Linked DNA regions of Homo sapiens: region 2 is linked to region 1. Evidence: promoter capture Hi-C in 16 types of primary human blood cells and fetal thymus (Javierre and others, 2016). All regions are on one chromosome and are shown on one strand. Each heading gives the region's core, a stretch centred on a gene start or on the middle of the fragment in contact. The rest is flanking DNA. Distances are from core to core; before and after follow the strand shown.

Region 1 (3,263 bases), core at 624-3,123:
CTGTCACCCAGGCTGGAGTGCAGTGGCATGACCTCAGCTCACTGCAACCTCTGCCTCCCGGATTCAAGTGATTCTTCTGCCTCAGCCTCCCAAGTAGCTGGGACTATAGGTGCACGCCACTATACCCGGCTAATTTTTGTATTTTTAGTAGAGATGGGGTTTCGCCACACATTTTTATATTTTAAGATACAAACTTCATATTTTCCTGTTCTTTCCTAACTGCTAATATTGTGTGGTATCTTACAGGTAGAAATCAACAGGATGGTACACTTAGTGTATTTTTACTCCTTAAAGAGCATACTCCTTAAAGGGCATACATAGTTTTCACCTTACAAGAAGGGGGAAAACCATAAATACAATGAATCAACTGACCATTATGTAGTAGACAATTTCTGTAATGTCCCCTTCTTTCTAGGCTCTGCGGATAGGAGAATCCACTAGACTTATAGTAGCATAATGTACAAGTTTTCTTTAAAGGTCTCTCCTTTAGAATATAAAATATTATACCATTGAAGAGTTTGGATGTGTAACCTGTGATGCCTTAGAAAAATATCCTAAGCACAAAATAAACTTTTCTAATCACTTCAAAAGATTAAAAAAACCAAAAAACAAAAAACAAAACCCAGCATTAGCAATGTCTTCACAAAAAGGATATATGGAAAATTACACATCTGGGCTCTTGCCAACTGATTGGAATGGTGTGGGTGGGTGAGGAGACAGGGCAAAGCAGAGAGAGGAAATTGTTTAAAAAAAAAAGGATGATGAGAAGTCTGGTTTCAGAAATTTTGCATAATACCTAAATTCAACTAACCTGCAAAAGCTCTGTGGGTAGTGATTTCGTTCTGCATCTCTCACGGTGCCACAGCATTTAAAAGATGCTCAATACTTATTAGTGTGGCCCCAGTCTCACATAAAGCATTTTTGTAATTGACAACATGGTTTTTGGGCTAAGCAAATACCACTCTACTGAAATATTAAACAGGGCAGATTCCCAACTGCAGCTTTAGCGGCAATTTAATGGTTGGCAAATATATTAAGTGGATGTGGACCTCACTATTTGGTCCTCACCCAGAAATACTGTAGGCTGCACACAGAAATTAAGCTTAGTTTCAATGAATAGTGAGACAAATTAGAGATGAAAAAGTTACATCTAACAAATAAAAAAGAAACCAACTTTAATATTCCCTTACCTAGACACCAGTATTCCACATTAGCTTTCCCTTATTGTCCTCTGACAGCATGCTTTAGTTCATCTTTTCAATATGTCTTGATTAACACTACTCCTTAACTTTAGGCTCCCTACCCATTCAAGCCACCCATATAAACTGCGTACACGTCCTTTGACAGCCATAATAAGTATAGTGTATGTTTCTCTCCAGCTCCTTTCCCTGTGATCCTCAACAAACTGCAAACTGTTCAAAGTCTACACATAGTTAATTTTGGTCGGTCCTCAGTTTCTAACGCATCCCGTAGGCGCTCAAAGAATGCGTCTTGTTGTTTTACACGCTTTCAAGTAACCATCGAGAAATCCTAGCAAGACGCGGGTCGGACCGGGTCCCTAGGGATAAAGAGAGCAGCGCCGGGCCAGGCTGGGGCCACTCTGGACCCAGCTTCTTCACAACTCCGCGCCTCTTCCCACAACCCAGCACCCCGCGCCGTCCACACCACGTTTACTTTGACTCGTCTTTGCATGTTACTCTGCCATTCCCGCTGCGCCAGGAGCGACTCGTCTGCTTCTTCGTCAAACACGTCCCCTTTGTCTCCAGGGCCCTGGATCAAGGAGGCTGCTTGAACCCACGACATCACCGAGGCAATTACGGGGTCGCAGGCCACCGGAAGCGCCAACAACTCCTTCCGGTCCGAAGGCGGGGCGAAGACGGCGAGTGGAGGCTCGGGAGGGGCTGCGTGTGCGCGGAGGCGGGCTGTGGCCCGTGGCCGCCGCCGGAGCCTTTCGCTTGCGGTGATTTTGGGCTCCCTCGGTTGGCAGTGTTGATGTGTGCCTGTGAGTTGTGAGCGAGGCAGATTTCCTCGCGTGGCCGGCACGACCTTCACCTTTGCAGAAGGCAACCGGGACCCTCAGTGAGACACCTTCCATTTCCACCGTAGTCTTACCATGGTCTGGGTTTTACATTCGCGCGCTTTGGTAAACTATTAAAGGTAGTAAAGTCGATGGGCGATTACCACCCAAATACTTTGTCTCTTTTGGAATCTCCTCTGCATTTAAAGGATTTGACAAGCCGACATTTTAAACTGTTAGGATTGTGGAGTAAAGGAAAATAGGATCGAAAAGCGAGGTACTGTAGCCAATTTGAGATTAGTAAGAAATATAGAGTACATTTGTAAAGCCAATATATTTTTTCATTGATTCACGATATCCTTCTGCCTCCCATTCCTGTTCATATGCCCTAAAGTAAACAGTTGGTTTGGTAAGGGTGGGGACTTGTGTCAACACCAGGACAGTTCTGACACATAGTAAATGCTGAACTCTATTTTGGTGAATGAATGAATACCTGTAGTATTCCTGTTTTGCCCTTTGCCTGGGTAAAATGAGTCATGTGATTATGATTTATTTATCTAACAATTTATTGAACACCTACCTTGTGTCAGGTACCATTCCAGGCTTTGGGATACATCAATGAACAGACGGAAGTTCCCAACCCTTGTCGACTTTATAGTCATGTAAAATTGACAGGATAAACAATAAGCAATATATAAGTAGCATAAGGTTTGTTAGAAGATCATAAATAAATGCTATGAAAAAAATTTTTAAATAAGCACAGTAAGAACCATAAGTGTGTGGGAGTGGGTGGTTGGTTCATGTTACAATTTTAAATCTCCAGAGAGAATTTGGCATCCCACAAATAAAAAATATATAAACTACAAATATGTATATTTTATTAATGTAAATATATTAAGATATATGTATATATCTTTATTAGGAACAAAATGGTAGTAAGCAATAAAGATAACAATAAAATAGAAAACCTCAAAACTTGAATAAGTAAGTCCAATTCTTTTTTGTATTATTTGAAAACACCAATAAGATAGATAATCCTGTCATGACCCAGATTTTTAAAGAGAACAAAATTATACAAGAATGAGAAATGAGATAACCACTGATGCAGAAGGAGATTAAAATATTAATTACCAACTAAAACTCAAAAGCAACACATTCGAAAACCTGAGAGATATGAATGACTTTCTAAGAAAATTGACCCAAGAAGTAGGGTCATGAAGAGACTAATTACCATAGAAAAATTGGA
Region 2 (3,398 bases), core at 512-3,011, 190 kb before region 1:
CCAACCAGTCCCAGCTACCCAGCTTACATCCGAACTTGCCCTTTTTCCTCTTTCCTCACCAGCTTCACAGTCACGCCGGGATGGGGTAAAATGACAAGCTTTTATCTACTTTAAGCAGTCATGCCACACTGCCAACAGTTTTCAAAGCATTATAGCCTTCAAAGAGATCCTTCCTTCCTTTCCTAATTTTAAGTTTCCAAGCTTCACTTTTTGGTGTTCTTTATATGGCCTGGAAAGTGGGGGCCTAGGCTCTTTTTAGGTTCTGGCCCCCTGAGTACTTTGTTGTATGGTGGACAGCAGAATTTTTGCCTTCTGTTTTTGTTTTCCTTTGTCCCTTCTTACATACTCTTTTTGAGCCTCCCTAAGAAATTCACTCACGGGACAGTGTGGAAGATCAGTCAGTATGGCAGAAGAAATTATAGGAATAGAAAGAAGCAAACCTTGTTGGAAGGCCAGGAAGTTTGGCATAACTTCAGATAGTTTGGCTGAAGGCAGCCAAATCCTCTTTTCAGGAGCCAGAGAGCTTAGGGCGCAGATACATAGGAATGTGGAGAAGTTTATCTAAAGAGCTTGTTTACTCATGTGGTCCTACAACTAACATTTGATCACTCAAGGGCGGGATAGCTCTCCTGGGGTGGGGGCGACCAGATTAATTACCCACAGGTGTGTTGACTCAAAGCCTTTGTCATTAAAACTGTGCCAAATAAATGCCCACAGGGACAGCTAATTGGGGCTGTGGCTGCTGATTCTTTACACCACCTTCCTTGGTGTCTGTGAGCAGCTCGGATCCCTAGAGGCACTTTCACTGAATATCGGTGTCTGGGTACATTATTCATCCATCATGCGAGCTGGGGCCTGCAGGACAGACCCTCCACAGGATGGTCTTTCCAATTTTCCATCTTTTGTAATTTCTTTGAAATATCTGGCCAACTGTTAACAACAAAATGAAGTTTTAACATTCCCCATCCAAGAGGATCCTCAGGATCTAGATCAGCATACTGTCTCATTTGTTCCTTCGATCTGTCTAAAAATTCTATAGGCCCTTCATCTTGCCCATGCTGTATATCAAATGCTCGGGTAAGGTTCTGGATTTGGGGTACTGATTCTTTAATCCCTTTTATTATCATTTCCCTAAGGTCTTGCATATGTAGTGGGCTGCATTGTTATTTTCCCACTGGGGGTCTTTGGTGGGGAATTTTTGATCTGCTGCAGGAACGTTTTGGCCAGGAGGGTGTTCACATTATCAGACCACCATAGCAGCTCTACGGATCATGCTTCTTTCTTCCCCTGAGAAGAGGATGCCTAGGATGAACATTAGCTCAGTCCAAGTATTAACTCAAAAGAATGCAACCTTTGTCTCTCACCTATCTGTGACCTGGAAGCCACATCCTACTTCCAGTTTTCCTCCCTTTGCTTTGAGTTGTCCTGCCTTTCCAGATCGAACCAATGTACTTCTTACATATATTGACTGATGTTTCATGTCTCCCTAAAATGTACAAAACCAAGCTGTGCCCCGACTACCTTGGGCACATGTCATCAGGACTTCCTGAGGCTGTGTCATGGGTGCATCCTCAACCTTGGCAAAATAAACTTTCTAAATTAACTGAGACCTATCTCAGATTTTCTGGGTTTACAACATAATAAAGATTTATGGAAGAGTTTTGGGAACAGTATAAAGAATTGCTATATACCCTTTACTCAAGTTCCCCAGTTATTAAATTTTTAGCCCGTTTGCTTTGTCATTCTTTCTCTTGCCCTCCTACTTTCTATATCTATTATCTGGTGTGTGTGTGTGTGTGTGTGTGTGTGTGTGTGTGTGTGTGTGTGTAATGTAATTGTTCCTGAACCATGGGCAAATAAGTTGCAGATGTGATGACCCTACATGTCTAAATACTTCAGTGTTACCTAAAATAAGAACATTAACCACAATAAAAATTATCAAACTCAAGATATTAACACTGATACAATAATATCAACTAATCTACAGATCTTAAATTTCACCCATTTTCCTGATAATATCTTTTATAGGAAAAGAAAACCACAGATTATTAATTGCATTCTATTATCATTTCTCTTTAGAGACTGCTGGATTCCCCTCCATAAGGTTATAACATTTGGCATTTCCCACCAACAATTAAGTTTTTAATACTCTGGGTTTAATTTGTGTCATGCATTTTTTCCCTGAACCAATGACTGTCATCTGGGGAAAGAGGCTGTGCTGGTGAGCTTAGCCTCACTCACTTTCTACTCCCTAGGAGGCTGTAGATGGATTCAGGTTCACCTGAAGCAAGTGGGCTCAGACAGGGAGGGTGATTCCCCAAAGCAAAATTGGGGTACTATTTCTACAGAATAGAGCTGAGTGAAAACCACCACCACCAATATCCAATAAGCTGGTTCATGGATGCCCAACTTGCATCTATACAACAAAACAACAGATGCCTCTGATACTTGGCTAAAGAGAGACAGTGAAATTGGAACTAGAGCACAGGTAGAGTCCAATCTAATTCTTTCATTTTCATGCAGTAAATATTTTAGTTTCTTTTTTTTTTAATTCATAGCACGACTTTTTTTTTTTCTTTTGAAGCAGGGTCTCACTCTGTTGCCCAGCAGGCTGGAGTGCAGTGGTGAGATCATGGCTCACTGTAGCCTCAACTTCCCCAGGTTCACATGATCCTCCCACCTCAGCCTCCCTAGTAGCTGGGACTACAAGCATGCACCAGCATGCCCAGCTAATTTTTTTGTATTTTTTGTAGAGTTGGGGTTTTGCCATGTTGCTCTGGCTGGTCTTGAACTGCTGGGCTCAAGTGATCCTCCCACCTCGGCCTCCCAAAGTGCTGAAATTATAGGCATGACCCACTGCACTCAGCCATAGCACAACTCTTAAGAGAAAGATTTCAGTCTATCTACTGCCTGTCATTTTTTGGTTTTTAATTTAGTTAATTCTCACAGCAGCTCTAGGTAGCAGGAAACTGTACATTTATCCCACTTCTGAAAAGTCTGTACTAAGGCAGACACTTGAAATAATTCTACTAAATGTGCTCAGCTAAATAAAATAAACTTAAACCCAGGTTTTTGTTCCAAACAATAGGTTTTGTGAAATTGTGATCTTTCTAGAAGAACTTAGATATGATTTTTCCTCTCAGTTTCTCTTTTTAAAAAAATCTTAAGAATTTTCATTGTTAGCATGTTTATTTTTCTGCCTTTTCCAATGAGAGAGTTTCCATCTTTCTCAGAAACTGGAGGGCTCTAGTGGAGAGTGATGATGTGTCATCGTTTCACATTTCCTCTCACGCTCGTTTTTCTCCTGGTTGTAAAGCTTCTAAATGATTGATTGCCATCTTAACAGATTTGAGGCCAGTCAGGGTCTCCTGCTCTCAGCACTGTGTTCTGGGGCAGTT

Evidence for each region. The method cuts DNA at HindIII sites, captures the fragments that hold promoters and counts their contacts. A CHiCAGO score of 5 or more calls a contact.
Region 2: a fragment that was not itself captured here is called in contact with the fragment with the promoter of YAE1-DT in region 1 in 13 of 17 cell types (activated CD4 T cells, total CD8 T cells, megakaryocytes and 10 more); the score reaches 11.2 in activated CD4 T cells.

What each region holds. Positions count from the first base shown.
Region 1 is chr7:39,564,959-39,568,221 of GRCh38, reverse strand. YAE1-DT (YAE1 divergent transcript) reads left to right here and starts at 1,873. Exons shown (of 3, transcript NR_187579.1): 1 at 1,873-2,079. It overlaps YAE1 (YAE1 maturation factor of ABCE1), which reads right to left and starts at 1,818. Exons shown (of 3, transcript NM_020192.5): 1 at 1,675-1,818. The coding sequence starts at 1,803. It also overlaps the pseudogene TMX1P1. RefSeq lists an enhancer at 1,532-1,981. The HindIII fragment of the contact is 5,827 bases long and covers 1,105-3,263 here.
Region 2 is chr7:39,754,916-39,758,313 of GRCh38, reverse strand. The region is part of intron 1 of LINC00265 (long intergenic non-protein coding RNA 265); the gene reads right to left. Among named protein-coding and RNA genes, the nearest start is that of LINC00265, 23 kb to the right of the region's middle. The HindIII fragment of the contact is 3,115 bases long and covers 204-3,318 here.